4 separate regions of the Homo sapiens genome follow, and regions 1, 2 and 3 are each linked to region 4. The links are contacts of gene promoters, found by promoter capture Hi-C in blood cells and fetal thymus (Javierre and others, 2016). All regions are on one chromosome and are shown on one strand. The core of a region is centred on a gene start or on the middle of the fragment in contact, and the rest is flanking DNA. Distances in the headings are between cores, read along the strand shown.

Region 1 (4,072 bases), core at 702-3,201, 170 kb after region 4:
TATATACTCAAGAGCAATGAAAACATATGTCTACATAAAGACCTGTACATTTAATATTATTTCATGGCAGCTTTAGTCATACTAGTCCAAAACTGCAAACAACCCACATGTGCATGAACAATGAAAGGATGAACAAACTGTAGTAAATCTATACAATGGACTACTACTCAGCAATTAAAAAGGGACAAATATTTGGTTTAAATAACAATGTCTGCCAATCTTAAGCACTATACTAACTGAACAAAGCCAGATACAAGAGAGTACAAATGGTATGATTCTACTTATTTGACATTCTGGAAAATGTAAAATATGGTGACAGTAAGCTGATCCGTGGTTGACAAGGGCAGTGGTAAGGGGTGAGGACTAACTGTAAAGGGCATGAGGGAACTTTTGAGGGTATGAAAATATTCTAAATCTTCATGGTGGTGGTGGTGGTTATAAGACTATGTACATTTGTCAAAACTTGTAAAAGTGGAGACTTAACATGAGTGAATGTTAATATAGGTAAACTATGTTCAATAAAGTTGATTTGAAAAGTACAATTAGTGGGCTGGGCGCAGTGTCTCATACCTGTAATCCCAGCACTTTGGGAGGCTGAGGCAGGTGGATTACCTGAGGTCAGGAGTTCGAGACTAGCCTGGCCAACATGGTGAAACACCATCTCTACTAAAAATACAAAACTTAGCAGGGCATGGTGGTGCGCACCTGTAATCCCAGCTACTTGGGAGGCTGAGGCAGAATTGTTTGAACCCGGGAGGCAGAGATTGCAGTGAGCCAAGATCACACCACTGTACCCCAGGCTGGGGGACAGAGTGAGACTTCGTCTTAAAAAATATATATAATAAAAATAAAAATAAACAAAGGTACAATTGGTAGTATTATTCCTTTTCTCAGGTTTCCAAGGTTTTAGGTAATTCCCAAAAGGTCTCAACATCCAGACTGCTCTACTTTTAGGATGTGACCTTGATTTCAACTTCTTACATGCCTTATGACTCAAAGTTAGCACTTAGGAAGCATAAAACTCTAAATTCTGTGTGTGGTTCTAAGACTACAGAAGTCCATGCTGAAATAAAACCTATATGCCATTATCTACAGCTAATTACAGATGCAACCAAGCATTATTTGATCCTCTGCAACTCTTTTAGCTTCCTTGCTTTTCTTATCTCTTCACTAAAAAGAATTTACCATAAATGTTTAGTAGCTCGTTCCTATGCAGAGGATAAATCTCAGTTTTAGAGACTGTAACTTTAGTCAACTGTTAAGCTTTAAAACCTGTAGTCTGTTTGCCAGCATCTAACAGAACCCACTGCATTTTCTACTAAGAATAATGAACATTTCTCATTATATCAACACTCCACAAATAATTAAAGGCAAATAAAGCATATTGCAACCAAAAGAAAAATTAAGTAGACTGAGCTATCAGTGGCAATTAGGCTCTGAAGAACAAAGGCATTCAGCAAAGGGGCTAGCACACATCACTAAAAATTCAAGATGGGCTTTCCTGCATAGCTACAACAGCAACAGATTAGAAATGTGTGAAACAGCTCATGGGAATTGCATTCAGGAAACTCGTGGGAAAAACCACAGTTAATCATTCACACGGATATCTCCAAAGAAAATGAAAAAGAACATGATGTGGAAAGAAGAGTAGAGACATCTAAGTTCTGAAATGGGTGAACCTCTCTATTACCCAAATATCTTGAAGGACACCATCCTTTTACATTAATCTTGCCCTATAGCACCACAGAATCAACAGTAAATAAGATACTATTAGCAAAGAGATACGGCAACCAACAAAAGAACAAACAAAAAAGAAACTAAACAAAAACTCACACGTTTACGACAAACCAGAATGCAAACTTGAAACTATCTAAAAATAAAATGGAATTATACTCAAGCTGAGTAGGACTCTTTTCCACTACTGTAATTCACCCCCTGCAATAAATCAGGGTCAGTGTCTTTTATTTATGTGTGAACTCATCCTCCTGGTAGACAAACTGACCTAGGTTGCAGCCTTTTATCTACCACTATAATAGTTTCATAATTATAAGACTAGGGGAAACAAAGCTAGATGTTCGAGGATCGAGTTGGGCTGACACTCACCACAAACTTCTCACCATTCTGCTCCACATGTTTGTATCTGGGGACCGATATGGGCACTGCTTGCTTTTCTGTGTAATCATAAAATGATTGTCCCAACGAGTCGTCACTGGGATCTAGGTTATCTGCCTCATGAGGAGGTACAGATAACACTGTCAAGATCAATTCCTTCTCGCCTGCTCGAATCAGGTCCACCACCTGCTTGTGTGTCGCCCCCTCAACATTCACGTGGTTCCTAAGGGGAAAAAGGGAAAAAGACAATCCCATAAACCAGAAGGGTCCAAACACCTTGTATCTCCACCCTCCTGCCCAAACTCCAGTGTCACACGGTATGAACCATGAAGTCAAAAGATTAATTTGGTTCCAGAAAAGTTGTTTATGTTTTAACAGTTTCTAATGTGAAAAACTTTGTGAACTTATGGCGGGGGGAAAAATGGAAAGAGGTGAGAAGACCTCCCCTTCCTCTATACTAATATCCCACACATAGCTTCAGGAACGCACATGGAAAGAGGCTGAAGCTGAGGAGGAAACAAAGCTTTTTCAGTCAAACAATCCAATTTCCTCATTCTAACTAAGCATGTATACAATTCAATCAAAGTGGCTTTTGACAGCCCTGCCACTTGAATTGTACTTTGTCCTTTTTAAACCTCAAAGGAATTCTGTTAAAAGAACCTTCACAAAATAAATTCTCTTAATTTGTAAATAGAGACTCAAAAAAAGTTATGACTGAAGATAATTCCTTTACATTTACATCCAATTTCTCTCCATATCTCAAATCAGTCAACTTAATTTTCCTTTATGCCAAGTTTCATTACTTTGGGAGCTAAATGGTATTACTCTTCACATACACTAGTTTCCAATTCAATTAACCTCTTGGGATTCCATCAACTTTTTTCCTGCTCTATGCTATCTCATTTAGAGTCCTGTGTAATCAGTCCAAACTAAAAAATATACACCTATAATTATATGGTCAGCCTACTAATTTTCCTTCCTGTTTTGCTGTGTACAAAAGGCTGAAATAAGGCAAACAAAGTACAAGGTTTAGATGAAGTATTTTGTCAAGAAAGATGCTGAGTCTCACAAGACTCCCTCAGCAAACCAAACTACCTTCCAGAATGCTGATCCAGCTGCTCTCTCAGCAAAAACCACTGGGCAGCAGGCCTGGAGGTTCCCTCCCATGGCTATCCCAAGAGAGGTAGGAAATACACACCTGACCTCTAATCAATTTAACATTTAAAGCTTATCTACCCTTTAGAGTTAAATTCTTTTTCAGTCCTGTTCCAAACCATTAGGGATTTTCCTTCCTGAAAAATGATACTAAATTTAGTAACAAGCCTTCCATAAACTTTTCAGTCACTGAAATTGTCTCTGTCAGAGTCTGGTATCTGAAATATCCATTTATATAAACAGAACAGTCAGGAGACCCCCCAGCTAGCCTCCTGGGATTTAATTTAGGGTTTAACAATCTAGCCAGTAAATTCAGCACTCCTGACATTTCACATCCTACAAGTCTAACTTATATACAAAAAAATCAGTAATTTTACAATAAGCTAGCTATAGAAAAAAATAAAGAGCCCCTTTCACTGATGGAAACTTGGGCTTTGAATTCATTCAGTCAGACCTGTGATCAAAAAACATGATCAGGCGCCGGGCGCGGTGGCTCAAGCCTATAATCCCAGCACTTTGGGAGGCCGAGGCGGGTGGATCACAAGGTCAGGAGATCAAGACCTTCCTGGCTAACACGGTGAAACCCTGTCTCTACTAAAAATACAAAAAATTAGCCGGGCATGGTGGTGGGCGCCTGTAGTCCCAGCTACTTGGGAGGCTGAGGCAGGAGAATGGCGTGAACCCGGCAGGCGGAGCTTGCAGTGAGCCCAGATCACGCCACTGCACTCTGCACTCCGCACTCCAGCCTGGCGGACAGAGCAAGACTCTGTCTCAAAAAAAAAAAACAAAAAAACAAAAAAAACGT
Region 2 (4,300 bases), core at 923-3,422, 220 kb after region 4:
ATCACGACTCAGAGCACGGAGGTGAGCTTCTTCTAATACCTCTATAAATGCCACAAAGTCCTCATATCATGGCATTTGGGATGTTTGGACCACACCTCCCACATGTGGATAACAGGGTGCCCATCTTCCAAGAAGCACTAAAATGTTCTTCTTTCATCCTCCCTGAAAAGTGAAAGGAAACCAGACCAGGAGGTCAAAGAGACACATTAATATAATTTATTAAATTCGCCATACAAAGAATATGCCACAGACAACAATATCAGAAAGGGAAGAAACATGGATATCACCTGCTCTGACCCCCTCATTTTACAAATGAGGGAACTCCCTGAAATCCCAGAGCATTGTTATGGACAAAGCCAGAATGTGAGCCCAGTCTTGAGACACAGAAACACACAGACTTAAGGATTCTGGCTGCGTGAGCCACATAGAGCCTAAACACTTAATCCACATTTGTTTTGAATTTTTCTGATTCCTATAGTACCATACTCTGATGCCTATCTACTTCTCAAGGTTGTAGGAAGAGCCCTAAAGAAAAACACCATGGGCCGGGCGCAGTAGCTCAAGCCTATAATCCTAGCACTTTGGGAAGCCGAGGTGGGTGGATCACCTGAGGTCAGGAATTCGAGACCAGCCTAGCCAGTATGGTGAAACCCCATCTCTACTAAAAATACAAAAATCAGCCAGGCGTGGTGGCACACCTGTAGTCCCAGCTACTCGGGAGGCTGAGGCAGAAGAATCGCTTAAATCCGGGAGGCAGAGGTTGCAGTGAGCTGAGATCGCGCCACTGCACTCCAGCCTGGGTGACAGAGTGAGACTCTGTCTCAGAAAAAAAAAAAAACAATAAAAAAAGAAAACCATGATGACCTGCAGGGTCATTCAGAGCCAGGATAAAAGACCAATTATGGAGCAAGGGGTTCAGAAGGGCTAGTGAAGAACTCATCTGGGTCCCAGAAGAGTCCTGATTGCCCTCTTTCTCCAAACAACATATACTCTGACCCCAAAGCCTCAGGGAAAGTAGACTCACCTTCCTTAGCTGCAGAGCAAGTTTGAAGGAGAAAGAGAGAAGAAACAGGCAGAGGAAAGGGAGAGAAAGATTCATAATAGTGTCACTCTGACATTAACAAGCCTAATGGGAACAGTTTTCCCGGTTTCAAGCAAATCCAAATACTGCAAGAGAAGGCTATAGAACTTTGGTATTATATCAATCATGAGATGTAAGCAAAACCACCAATAACTTAGCAAAATAAATACAAAGAGGATTTTGCTGGGACTGGTGGAACCCAGTGAAAACAGTTTTCAGGCTCTGGGTCAAGAAGACTGAGGTGTGCCTGGTGGTACACCTTAGGGAAAATCCCTAAAGAGACTCTGGGAGTTTTCACAGCAGAGAGAAGTCACACATGACTGTCTGTAGCCCTAGAGAATTTTTCCGCAAAAGGCTACTCCCTGAATGTACATTCCCTCCTCCCCAGAAAGACAAGGCCACCCAGTCAAAGCTTAGGTTCACTGGCTCTCACCAGGCCTTGCCAGGTAACCCCACTATCTGTCTGCAGGAGGCCAGGGCAGCGTAGGCTGCAGATGGAGCAAGTAGAAAAACAAACAGTTTGTTGCTAAGAACTGAGCTGTGTTTGTGGAAGGAACTTCATTCCCCCAGGACATTCTCCAATCACTCTGGACATCTGTGTCTCCAGCTTTTAGGGCTGAGGCAAATCTTGTCACCTCTCCCAATCTGATGAAGGCCTGGCTTATGGCACAGCCAGAGTCCAGTCTACAACAGAAGGGAGGCTCTCTACAGAGAAAAATAGTCACTGTAGGAATATAGATATTGCCCTGGCTCCTGCTTGCAGGACAATGTCTTCCAAAGGGCTGCAGTGCCTTGAATAGGTGCTCGTGCTCCGTCTGCCCAGCTTAGAGTGGCCAGGGGCTTGGGAATGGTGAGACACAGGAGCCCGAAGTCCTGGGTGCAGCCAGGGGACAGTCAGGAAGTCAAAGGCAGTGTTAACAGCCAACAGGGGCAGTGGGCTTCTCCGAGGCAGAGGCAGCAGCAATGGCAGCAACCATCTCCAGGCAGCTCAGGTTTCCACCACTCGGATGACAGGCATGGGCTTCGGGCTAGGCGGCTTGGATATCCTAATACTGAAAAGAAGGTTGGAAACACTGAGTTGTGCTGGGAACAGCTGTGTTGTGGCCCACCCTTCACAGAGCCCCTGGAATCTTCACATTGGCCTCTGGAATCTTACACTGCAGTGCTGGCTGATCACTTGGGTTCCAAGTGCTTTAAAACAGTAATTATCAGTGACAACTAGGGGAAGATTTGGGGCATGATACATGTGTCTTGTAGCAAGGGTGAAGAAAAGAGAGGGGCAGTTAAACAACTGAGAAGTGGATATAGCTGTGATTCTCGATTTTGTCAAGATCATGGGTCCTTTTCTGAATCTCTTAGAGGCAAAATACCCTCTCCCTAGAAATATGCAAACATTATAACTAAATTTTTCCTACCATTTCAGGTGGTTCATACATCTCTAGAAGCCATTCATGGACCTCCCTGGGCTTGTGTTAACAGGTTCTACTCTAATTGGGCTAGAAAATGGTTCCGGCAAACAGTGGGTCAGACTGAGGGAGGAAAGTTGGATTTAAAGGAGCCTTGTTCTTGCCTTAGCACTAAAGGTTCTACAGAGCTCTGTCCCTCCTTCTCCCCTCCTCCCTGGCCCCATTCTATCTACACACGCTCACTCACCTGCCCGGGTTCTCTGTCTTGGCCCGGGCCTGGGTGCTGAAGTTGCCATGACTGATTTGTTTTTCTATCAGGTGTTCCATCCGGTCATGCATCTCTAAATTCTGTAACACAAGCTTAGGGGTTAGAGTTGGCCTTTTTCTGGCTTCCCGGGTGCCACGTTCAGCTAGTGCATTCTGGTCTCTCTGCCTGTGTTTATGCTGCTGTTGCCTCTACCCCCACCATGCGTGCCACCACCTGGATACCCACTTGCCTCATCTTCATTACCATAGATTGCGCTTATCCTCCAATACCTGCTCCTCCATAACTCTGTACAACACTGACAGACTGATGGTTTCCTATATGTCCTCTACATACAGTTCTTTTTTTTTTTTTTTTTTTTTTGAGATAGGGTCTCACTCTGTTGCCCAGGCTGGAGTGCAGTGGCGTGATTATAGCTCACTGCAGCCTCGACCTCCTGGGTTCAAGTGATCCTCTCCTTTAAGTCTCCCAAGTAACTGGACTACAGATGCATGCCACCACATCTGGTTAATTAAAAAAATTTTTTCTTTTTCAGAGACAAAGTCTCACTATGTTGCCTAGGTCTTGAACTCCTGGCCTCGAGCAATCCTACCGCCTCAACCTCCCTAAGTGCTGGGATTACAGGCATGAGCCACTGCACCTGGCCCCTATATATAATTTTTTGTCCTCAGTTGAGATACTCACTTGCCTTTGTTGATACGCTATTCTATAAAGCATTCTTTGGTCTTTTTAAAAATACACATTTTATCTCTGACTATAGACTGCAAACTCTCTAAAGATAACCCTTTCTCCCATTTTTCTCCCTCACTACAGGGGATCTTCACAGAGCGTTCGCAAAGTGATCTTCAGGTAGTCAACAGACAGGTAGGGCCCTGTGGCAAAGTGGAAATTAGACTAGGAAGGCAACTCGTTACGTAATCTAGCCCTGGAAAAGGCTCCATCTGTATGAATGCCTCCTCCTCCTTCACAGCCCAGCACCACTGCCAGCTCCTTTGCAAAGCCTGGAGGGTCAGAATTAGCCGTGTGCAGCCATGGCATGTGGCTTGCACCATGATGACATGTCCGTTGAAGGTGGGGCCAGGGGGGTGGTCATCTCATCATTGTTAGCAGCTTCCTGAAGGTTCTCAGAAAATGTTTATTCAGCTGAACTGAAAGTCAACCAACCACCCTAGGTATTCACTTCAGAGCAACAGCAAGACATGACAAAGACCCCTCCCATAACCTCTGTCTCCCTTATGTCCACCTTCTCTTCAAGAGTCCTGTTCCCCTGCTGGGCTGCCCAGCACACACACCTCTGCCTCCAGATAGGCGATTTTCTCCTTGAGCTCCTGGATGGTGGCGTCCTTTGACTGGATCACAGCTTTTGAATTCTGGAGCTGCAAAGGTGTGGGAGACACTGGAGCTCATTTTGCAATGACTCATTACACACTCACCAGACTTCACCCCAGCTGCTGGGGAAGGCAGCAGAGCCCTGCAACTCCATATGACTTCATTAGCTTTTCTACAAAGGCCTCCTTTCAGTCAATATTAGACTCTTGATTATCCCAG
Region 3 (4,301 bases), core at 411-2,910, 240 kb after region 4:
TCTGTCCTCGAGTTTTGGAAAAACTGAAAAGCAGGATCCCAGGATTATCCCTCCCAGGAAAGACTTACCCAATCTGTTCAGTCTAACAAACATTTACTGATGCCTTCTACATCCCAGACCTGGGGGGAATGGGAGGGTGAGGATACAGACACGAGGTGGGGTGGGGTGGGGTGAACTCCTAACCTTGAGGAACTTCCCATCCCAGGTTAGACATAACTATATACAAGATTAATAACAGGCTAGGGCACGGACTTCAATTTACGCTACAGGTATCACCCAAACTAAGCAAGATCAGCTTATGAGAAGTGTGGATTTACAGGTGATTGTCTGCTTTACAAAATTCTATTATTATAAGAAGCTTGATCACAGAATCCTTATAGATAAGAGGTTTGCTAACAACTGATGATATTTAATTTATATAAGTTCAATTTCTGTACAGTGTTTCAGGAGCAGGTGTACTTATGTTTAAGCTGACATGTGTAAATGTAAGTGCTCATCGGCTGGAGAGTCCTAACCAGATTGTGAGTGCTCCAGAGAAGCCAGCATCACCTCTATTTTCTCCATTCCTGGCAGGGATGCTAGATTTAGCACACACTGGGTAATTGGTAAATGAGACTGCCTGGCACAACCCCACCTCCTCGGTGGGGACCCAACCATGGACCATTTCCTATTACCTGTATCTCCTGTCGATGGAGAGAATCTCCTAGGTTCCTGTCAAGCTTGCTACTTATATCCTCCCGGAGCTTCTGTAGGCAGTTCCTGGCCTGGGAGGGGAGGGGAAGAAACTTGAGCTTTAGGGTAGAGAAAGAGAGCATGCCAACTCACCCAACTCTGTGCCCCATCCCTGGCCTGTACTGCGAGTCAGGCACTGTCCTAACGACTGGCTGCAGGATGGAGGGAGGGACCTTGGTCAAGTGGAGCTACAGCTGACATTCTTGTTGGGGAGACACAAGACACAAAAGACAAATAAGTAAAATGTGTAATATGTTATATGGGCATAAGTGCCAACGAGAAACACGAGCCAGGAAGGGAGTTAAGAAATGCTGTGAAAAGTGGCTGGTAATTTTCGATAGGTGGCTGGGACAGTGCTGGGCCCATAGTACTTAAGTATTTGTGGATTAATGGATCAGGTATGGTCAAAAGTTATATATTTGACACACGGGAGGGCATGGTGGCATTTCAGAGACATAAAGGAAAAAGAAGGGGAAAAACCAGAATCCACAAAAGAAGACAGTCACAAAAAATGTGAGATTTAGAGAAATGACCTAGGCACTGCGTGAGAGGTAAGGGGTGCCCACCTCCTGGATGTACTGGACCTCACTCTTCAGCTGGTTAATATTCTTCTCGTGAATCATCTTGTCTCCAGACCTCCCCTTCAAGTACACCTGAAATAAGAACACCATTTAGTTAAGAAACCTCAAATTAAATTAACTATACAAAAATAGGCAGCTTCATATAGTGCTGGTGGGAGGGTAAATTGTTACCACCAATTTACTGGGTGGAATTTGGTGATTCGGATCAGAAGACCTAAAAATATATTTACTTTTTGGTCTATCAGTTCTACTTCTGGAAATTTACCCTAATGCAATAAATTTAGCTCAATGCTATATAGCTGTATTGGCATAAACACTCACATATATACAGTCATGCATCACTTAATCATAGGAATACATTCTGAGGGATGCATCATTAGGCAATTTCATCCTTGTACAAACATCACAGAGTGTACACACACAAACCTAGATGGCATGGCCTCCTACACCCCTAGGCTGTATGGTGTACCCTATTGCTCCTAGGCTACAAACAAACCTGCACAGCATGTTACTGTACTGAATACTGTAGGTGATCGTCACACAATGGTAATGTATCTAAACCCAGAAAAAATACAGTAAAAATGGAGTATAATAATCTTATGGGACCACTGTTGTCTACGCAGTCCATCACTGACCAAAACGTTGTTATGCAGTTTTGTTATGCACTGACCAAAACTGTAACTGAGTCAATCATGTGGTATGGGATTTATATCTAAAAAAGCTGTTTTATAAAAAAAAAGAGAGAGAGAAATAACAAAAATCATTTTATTTTTTAAAAAATAAGTTCCATCAGCCAGGTGGGCTGGTGCACGCCTATAATACCAGCATTTTGGGAGGCTGAGACAGGACGATTGCTCGAGCCCAGGATTTGGAGACCAGCCCAGGGAACAAGGCGAGACTGTCTCTACAAAACTAAAAATATATAAATAAATAAATAAGTTCCATCAGGATGAACCCATTATAGGAAAACATAAGTTCCATAAACACACCTCCTACCTGTCTCCACAACCTCTAGCAGCAAAACATGGTCAGTGGATAGGCCCCTAGTAAGGTCATCCAGTCCATCCCCTTGCCTGGGGCCAGGCTGCACCAAAGTTGCTAACAGGCAGACTGTAGTCTCCTGGTATTAATTAAGATATTTCTAGGAGATTGCCAGGAACTAGCAGCTCAGGTCTGGTTCCTTCCATCAAACCACAAGCTCCCTTTGGCAACAACATCAACTGCTCCTTCTCATATACGTGCAGGGAGGAAGAGGACAGGGAGAAAAGTTGGAGGTGAACTAAGCTTACCTTAATGATCTCCTCATGTCCATCATGGGACTCCACCAGTTCTGAAGCCAGAGAATGACCAGCTGAGTGGCTGGACACCATGGCATAGGTCTTCCTGCCCGCCTGGCCAAAGAGAGATGAGAGAGAGAGAGAGAGAGAGAGATGGCTCAGACACCACATGGCAAGCCCAGAACTCCTGCCCCTCAGCTAATGCAGAAGACCTGTTTCTCAAAAGACTTGAAGGATTAGTCTGACTTTCCTCTCCAAAAATTCGTTTCCGAACTTCTAACAGAAGCCACACAGCAGCAAGAACACCGGCCAGGGAGAATGGACAGAAGTAGCAGTTTAGTTTTAATTTTAGTGGGGGACTCCTCCTGCCCCAAAGCAGTGCAGAAGGCTGAGGCAAGCTGGATGTTGCTGAAAGGAGGGGCTCCCACGCTCGCATCACCAGAGTCGGCTCCAGGCAGTACTTGGGTAAGAGGCCAGCAGCAAGGAAGCACTGGTGTGGGGAGGGGGCCTTGCCCACCAGAATTCCGCAGTACCTTCTGGGCTATGTGTTCAAGTTCATCTCCTGTCAGTTCACCCTGGAGAGTCAGCCTGAGAATGTCCACGCTGCCCTAATAATGACAATGACAGCAACAATAACCCCTCAACTTTACAGTCTACAGGTACAAACTGCTACCAGTACAGGGGTGCTTCTGCCAGCTCTGTGGAGCGGGTCTTATCATCACCACTTCACAGACTAGGAAAACTGAAGTCCAGGGAGGCAGCATTACCTTGCCCAAGATCAGGTGTTTGGGGTGGTGACTCTGGGACCACCCAACAGTTTTTTCTTTCACAACAAAGATTACCTGGCACATGGCTCTGTAGAGCTCCAGCAGGGCTACCCTGGTTCTTGGACTACAGGGAACACATTGCATGCATTCTTCTTTCTCTAGTTGTAGAGAGGTCATTCCTGGACTGCTCATCCTCAATCCAGAATTTCTGCTCCTGACAACCAGCCAGCAAGTTATTGATGCACTTTACAAGACTAGCATATTCTTCCTGAACTAAACTATAGGAAAGTACCTGAATTCAAACTCCCATTTCTATGAGCCACATGGAAATTATCCAAGTGAAAACAGGCAAGATAATAGGTATTCATCTAGAGATCAACCTAATTTCAAAGAATGAAGCAGGTTTTCTTTCATAAGTCAAAGAAGTGTGTGTGTGTGTGTGTGTGTGTGTGTGTGTGCGCGCGCGCGCGCATGACTGCAGCCTCAACCTCCCAGGCTTAAGTGATCCACCCACCTCAGCCTCCCAAGTAGCTGGGACTACAGGCGCACCAATATGCCCATCTAATTTTTGTATTTTTTGTAGACATGAGGTTTTGCCATGTTGCCCGGGCTTCAAAGAAGATTTTTTTAAAAAGGCCGGGCACGGTGGCTCACGCCTGTAATCCCAGCACTTTGGGAGGCCAAGGCAGGTGGATCACGAGGTCAGGAGATCGAGACCATCCTGGCTAACACAGTGAAACCCCGTCTCTACTAAAAAATACAAAAACAAAATCAGCCTGGCGTGGTGGCAGGCGCCTGTAGTCCCAGCTACTCGGGAGGCTGAGGCAGCAGAATGGCGTGAACCCGGGAGGCGGAGCTTGTAGTGAGCCAAGATTGTGCCACTGCACTCCAGCCTGGGTGACAGAGCAAGACTCCGTCTCAAACACTCACACACACACACACAC
Region 4 (4,549 bases), core at 1,918-4,417:
AAAAGCTCAGAATAAAGCAGTGGTGAGGAAGAGAGAGAATCTAGGAGATATGAAGGGATCACACCCTGCTGCCTGCTTTTCTCTGACTGCCTCTTTCCAAGGAAACTAAGCTGGGGGAGGGAGGCAATGGCAGGCAAGAGACATTTTTAAGCCTCTTGGTTGTAGAGGAGACTGCAAGAGATAAATTGTTCTTTCAGCCTTGCTCCAGTGAGGTCTCCCTGCCTCCGTCTGCTCACTGGTTTCTGTGCCTTTTTCATCTCCCCTTTGGCTGAGTGCTGGCAGCATTGGTTTGCTACTTGCAGTGTTAGGTGCCTGCTTAGAAAGTCTGTTTAGTTCAAAGAGTTATTAAGCATGTGCCATGTGCTAAGCATTATGATAGGTACAGAGGAGACAGGGAAAGAGAGACCTCAGCCAAGGAGCTGAAATCTAGGGTGGGAAGGCAGACAAATTGGACCATTTTCCTGCAATGTAGTAAGTGCTACACAGAGGAAAGCCCAAAAGAAGGGCCCTTAATCCAGATGGGAGGCAGTTAGGGAAATAGTCTTAGGAGAGGTGACACTAGAGGGTAAGGATTAGTAATGGGAAGAGGGGAACAACATGCACAAAGGCAGAGGCATGTGACAGCATACAACAAGAGTCACAGACAATCACTCTTATAAAAGCAGGAAGTGCACATTAGAGTCTTTGACAAGGTTCATTCTAGAAGTATTGGGAACATAAATTGAGGGCTTCACCCAGAAAACATTCACCTGTGCCCCACCCACTCTCACTTCCCTCCAGTGTCCTGAACACACACGTACTTCTACCAGTGGGATTTGGCTGGTGCCAAAGTGCCAAGTACATAAGGGGAAGGCAAGGAGGGTTTGTCCTAGCCCAGGAAGAATGAGCGGACTTCTTTGCTCTGAGGAGAGCTGAAGTATTGACCCTCCCTTCCCCATTAACCCATATCCAGCTGCCACCCAAGGGGAAGCTTCGGAGCCTGTGTAGCCAGCATGTGGAAAGGCTGCAGATCTTCCAGCACCTCCACCCCATCGTGGTCCAAGCCGCTTTCCCTCCACTCTACAAGGAGCTCTTCAGCACTGAAACCGAGTCACCTGTGGGGCTGTCCAAGTGACCTGGAAGAGGGACTCCTTGCCTCTCCCTATGGCCTGCTGGCCCACCTCCCTGGACCCCGTTCCACCCTCACCCTTTTCCTTTCCCATGAACCCTGGAGGGTGGTCCCCACCAGCTCTTTGGAAGTGAGCAGATGCTGCGGCTGGCTTTCTGTCAGCAGGCCGGCCTGGCAGTGGGACAATCGCCAGAGGGTGGGGCTGGCAGAACACCATCTCCAGCCTCAGCTTTGACCTGTCTCATTTCCCATATTCCTTCACACCCAGCTTCTGGAAGGCATGGGGTGGCTGGGATTTAAGGACTTCTGGGGGACCAAGACATCCTCAAGAAAACAGGGGCATCCAGGGCTCCCTGGATGAATAGAATGCAATTCATTCAGAAGCTCAGAAGCTAAGAATAAGCCTTTGAAATACCTCATTGCATTTCCCTTTGGGCTTCGGCTTGGGGAGATGGATCAAGCTCAGAGACTGGCAGTGAGAGCCCAGAAGGACCTGTATAAAATGAATCTGGAGCTTTACATTTTCTGCCTCTGCCTTCCTCCCAGCTCAGCAAGGAAGTATTTGGGCACCCTACCCTTTACCTGGGGTCTAACCAAAAATGGATGGGATGAGGATGAGAGGCTGGAGATAATTGTTTTATGGGATTTGGGTGTGGGACTAGGGTACAATGAAGGCCAAGAGCATCTCAGACATAGAGTTAAAACTCAAACCTCTTATGTGCACTTTAAAGATAGACTTTAGGGGCTGGCACAAATCTGATCAGAGACACATATCCATACACAGGTGAAACACATACAGACTCAACAGCAATCATGCAGTTCCAGAGACACATGAACCTGACACAATCTCTCTTATCCTTGAGGCCACAGCTTGGAGGAGCCTAGAGGCCTCAGGGGAAAGTCCCAATCCTGAGGGACCCTCCCAAACATTTCCATGGTGCTCCAGTCCACTGATCTTGGGTCTGGGGTGATCCAAATACCACCCCAGCTCCAGCTGTCTTCTACCACTAGAAGACCCAAGAGAAGCAGAAGTCGCTCGCACTGGTCAGTCGGAAGGCAAGATCAGATCCTGGAGGACTTTCCTGGCCTGCCCGCCAGCCCTGCTCTTGTTGTGGAGAAGGAAGCAGATGTGATCACATCACCCCGTCATTGGGCACCGCTGACTCCAGCATGGAGGACACCAGGGAGCAGGGCCTGGGCCTGTTTCCCCAGCTGTGATCTTGCCCAGAACCTCTCTTGGCTTCATAAACAGCTGTGAACCCTCCCCTGAGGGATTAACAGCAATGATGGGCAGTCGTGGAGTTGGGGGGGTTGGGGGTGGGATTGTGTCCTCTAAGGGGACGGGTTCATCTGAGTAAACATAAACCCCAACTTGTGCCATTCTTTATAAAATGATTTTAAAGGCAAGAAGTGTGTGTGTCAGAGGGTGGGGGAGATTCTTAAATTAGATTACCTGCATGCCTGCTCTCCAGTCTCATTCCTGGGTCAAGACTCAGGTTTCCAGCTCAGCAATCCATCAGCATTATACAGATCCAACCCACCCTCACCCGACCCCTGCAGTTTCTCCCCAGGTGGAGCAGTCCCTCAGTGAGGACTGTGAACGAATCTTCAGGAACCCCCACTGTAGGAGCCTCAAACTGAGCCCCACGGGAGATGCTCTAGACTGAGAACTTCCCATAAATGATACCCACGGGGAACGTTTAGATTTAGAGGTTGCACAGAATTGCTCCACATCTGGGAGACCAAAAGACAGTCCTCTGGAAGGTGGCTGGCCCAAGCTCCCCAGTGGGGGAATCAGGATGTCAGAGAGATCCTCTAGAACCTGCTGTTCTTGCTATTGCATGACCCCTCCCTGGCACCAGAGCCTCCCTCCTGGCTCCCTCCCCTGTCACTTGCCAGCCTGTAGTGGTGCTTGCTGCAGCCCTCCCTGGTTGCTTTATTTATTTATTTTGCACCAACAGGGTTGCTGCAGACTCATTCTTGCCTGGTTTAAAAAGAGAGAGAGAGAGAGAGGAAAAAAAAAAAGGAGAAATGCTTTCTGGCTCTTTTCTCCACCTCAGTCTTGGCAGCAGCGGCCGCAGCAGCAACAGCAGCAGCAGCAGCGGCAGGCAGCAGCCGGGCAGCCAGGCAGCGGGGGTTGAGGCACACAGGGAAGGTGCAGGGGCCTGAGGTGCAGCTCGAATGGGACAGGGCCCCCAGCGCTGGACAGATGCAGTGCCAAACTTGATGCCACCTTCCAGCTTCTCCGGTAAGTGCCCCCACTCTCTGTCCCAAAGATGCAGCCGCCCTTTTCCATAACATTCTCCGAGACAGGCCAGACTAGGGGCCAGACAGGCCCCTCAAGGCAAGAGGGTTTGGGCCCCCACACTGCTAACAATTAATCCTGGCCCCATGGGACTTTGAGGGGGAAACTCAAATATCCCAAGTACCCCTGGGTGGAAGGGCTCCAAGGAGACCTCCCTTCCATCTCCCCAGTGCTTCCCCTTCCTCTGGAAGGGTTTTTCTCCACAATCGGTGTGGATCTTCCAGAAATCTTTCCCCCAGGAACCCTCTCCCCACACAGTTCCCATTTGTCAGTCAGGTGTGCTTTAAAGAGGATACAGGATACCCAGGTTCAAAAGTGTCTCTGGACTGCCACATAAAGACAAGAAAAAGGCTCCCTACCCTTGAGGGGTGATGCCTTCAAGGGTCATGTCTTGGTGATGTCCCCACCCCACTGAAGGGACAAAAAAGTGGTTCTGACATCTCGCTTCCTGCAAAGTGGCCGGAAGCCGGTCCTGCAGCCATGGAGGTTGGCAAGGGAAATTTGTGATTAAATTAGCCACCTTAGAAATAAAATAGGTTGCTCCAGCTCCCTCAGCCCCTGGCCCAGCGGACTCAGGGGAAACTCACAGGAGCAGGAAGGAAGAAAGCTGGGTTACATGCTTCACTGCACTTTTGCTGAATGCAGAGCGAGGATGGGCAGGAACTGCAGCAGTAGTGATGAAGAGCTAGCTGTCAGGTGGACTTCCCAGAACAAGCCTAGGGAGAACAAGGGAGGCTGGGCCATCTTTCCCGGGAGAGCTCTGGGCATGCCACAGAGACCTGTTAGGTCAGTTTGGGGCGAGAAGAGTCTGCTCTGCAGTCTTTGCCCCACGTTATTCTTTTTCATCCCCAAGCCTCACACCAGTTTTCTGCATCCCTCTGCTCTTTTGGCCTCTTTCTTTAGTTTCCCAACTAGGACAATCCTCTCAAGTGGCTGTAGGATAGCCACTAGAATGATCCTTCTAGGAGGTGGAGAGTGGGAAGGAAAGGGGAAGAAATGACCATCTCTTAAACTGCCTCTCCTAAGTTCCACATGAGAAAAAACAGGGCATGTAGTAGAAAGCTGACCCTGTAGAGCCCAGAGAGCCTGAAGCCCACAAGCCCAAAGGTGATCAGGATTGCCGCTCAGCAGAGACT

Evidence for each region. Contacts are between HindIII fragments. The CHiCAGO score rates a contact against its expected background, and 5 or more counts as called.
Region 1: a fragment that was not itself captured here is called in contact with the fragment with the promoter of LINGO4 in region 4 in 1 of 17 cell types (total CD8 T cells); the score reaches 5.1 in total CD8 T cells.
Region 2: a fragment that was not itself captured here is called in contact with the fragment with the promoter of LINGO4 in region 4 in 5 of 17 cell types (activated CD4 T cells, naive CD8 T cells, naive B cells and 2 more); the score reaches 7.4 in activated CD4 T cells.
Region 3: a fragment that was not itself captured here is called in contact with the fragment with the promoter of LINGO4 in region 4 in 5 of 17 cell types (M1 macrophages, M0 macrophages, activated CD4 T cells and 2 more); the score reaches 6.4 in M1 macrophages.

Annotation. Positions count from the first base shown.
Region 1 is chr1:151,637,151-151,641,222 of GRCh38, reverse strand. It overlaps SNX27 (sorting nexin 27), which reads right to left. Exons shown (of 12, transcript NM_001330723.2): 2 at 2,104-2,335. Among named protein-coding and RNA genes, the nearest start is that of SNX27, 27 kb to the right of the region's middle. The HindIII fragment of the contact is 1,372 bases long and covers 1,266-2,637 here.
Region 2 is chr1:151,579,477-151,583,776 of GRCh38, reverse strand. TUFT1 (tuftelin 1) reads right to left here. Exons shown (of 13, transcript NM_020127.3): 11 at 4,045-4,128; 12 at 2,735-2,835; 13 at 194-2,133. The coding sequence ends at 2,070. Among named protein-coding and RNA genes, the nearest start is that of SNX27, 30 kb to the left of the region's middle. The HindIII fragment of the contact is 1,354 bases long and covers 1,496-2,849 here.
Region 3 is chr1:151,560,988-151,565,288 of GRCh38, reverse strand. It overlaps TUFT1 (tuftelin 1), which reads right to left. Exons shown (of 13, transcript NM_020127.3): 2 at 3,124-3,198; 3 at 2,603-2,704; 4 at 1,299-1,385; 5 at 675-764. Among named protein-coding and RNA genes, the nearest start is that of MIR554, 17 kb to the right of the region's middle. The HindIII fragment of the contact is 1,878 bases long and covers 722-2,599 here.
Region 4 is chr1:151,804,037-151,808,585 of GRCh38, reverse strand. LINGO4 (leucine rich repeat and Ig domain containing 4) reads left to right here and starts at 3,167. Exons shown (of 2, transcript NM_001004432.4): 1 at 3,167-3,356. RORC (RAR related orphan receptor C) reads left to right here. Exons shown (of 11, transcript NM_005060.4): 11 at 953-2,515. The coding sequence ends at 1,114. The HindIII fragment of the contact is 4,610 bases long and covers 973-4,549 here.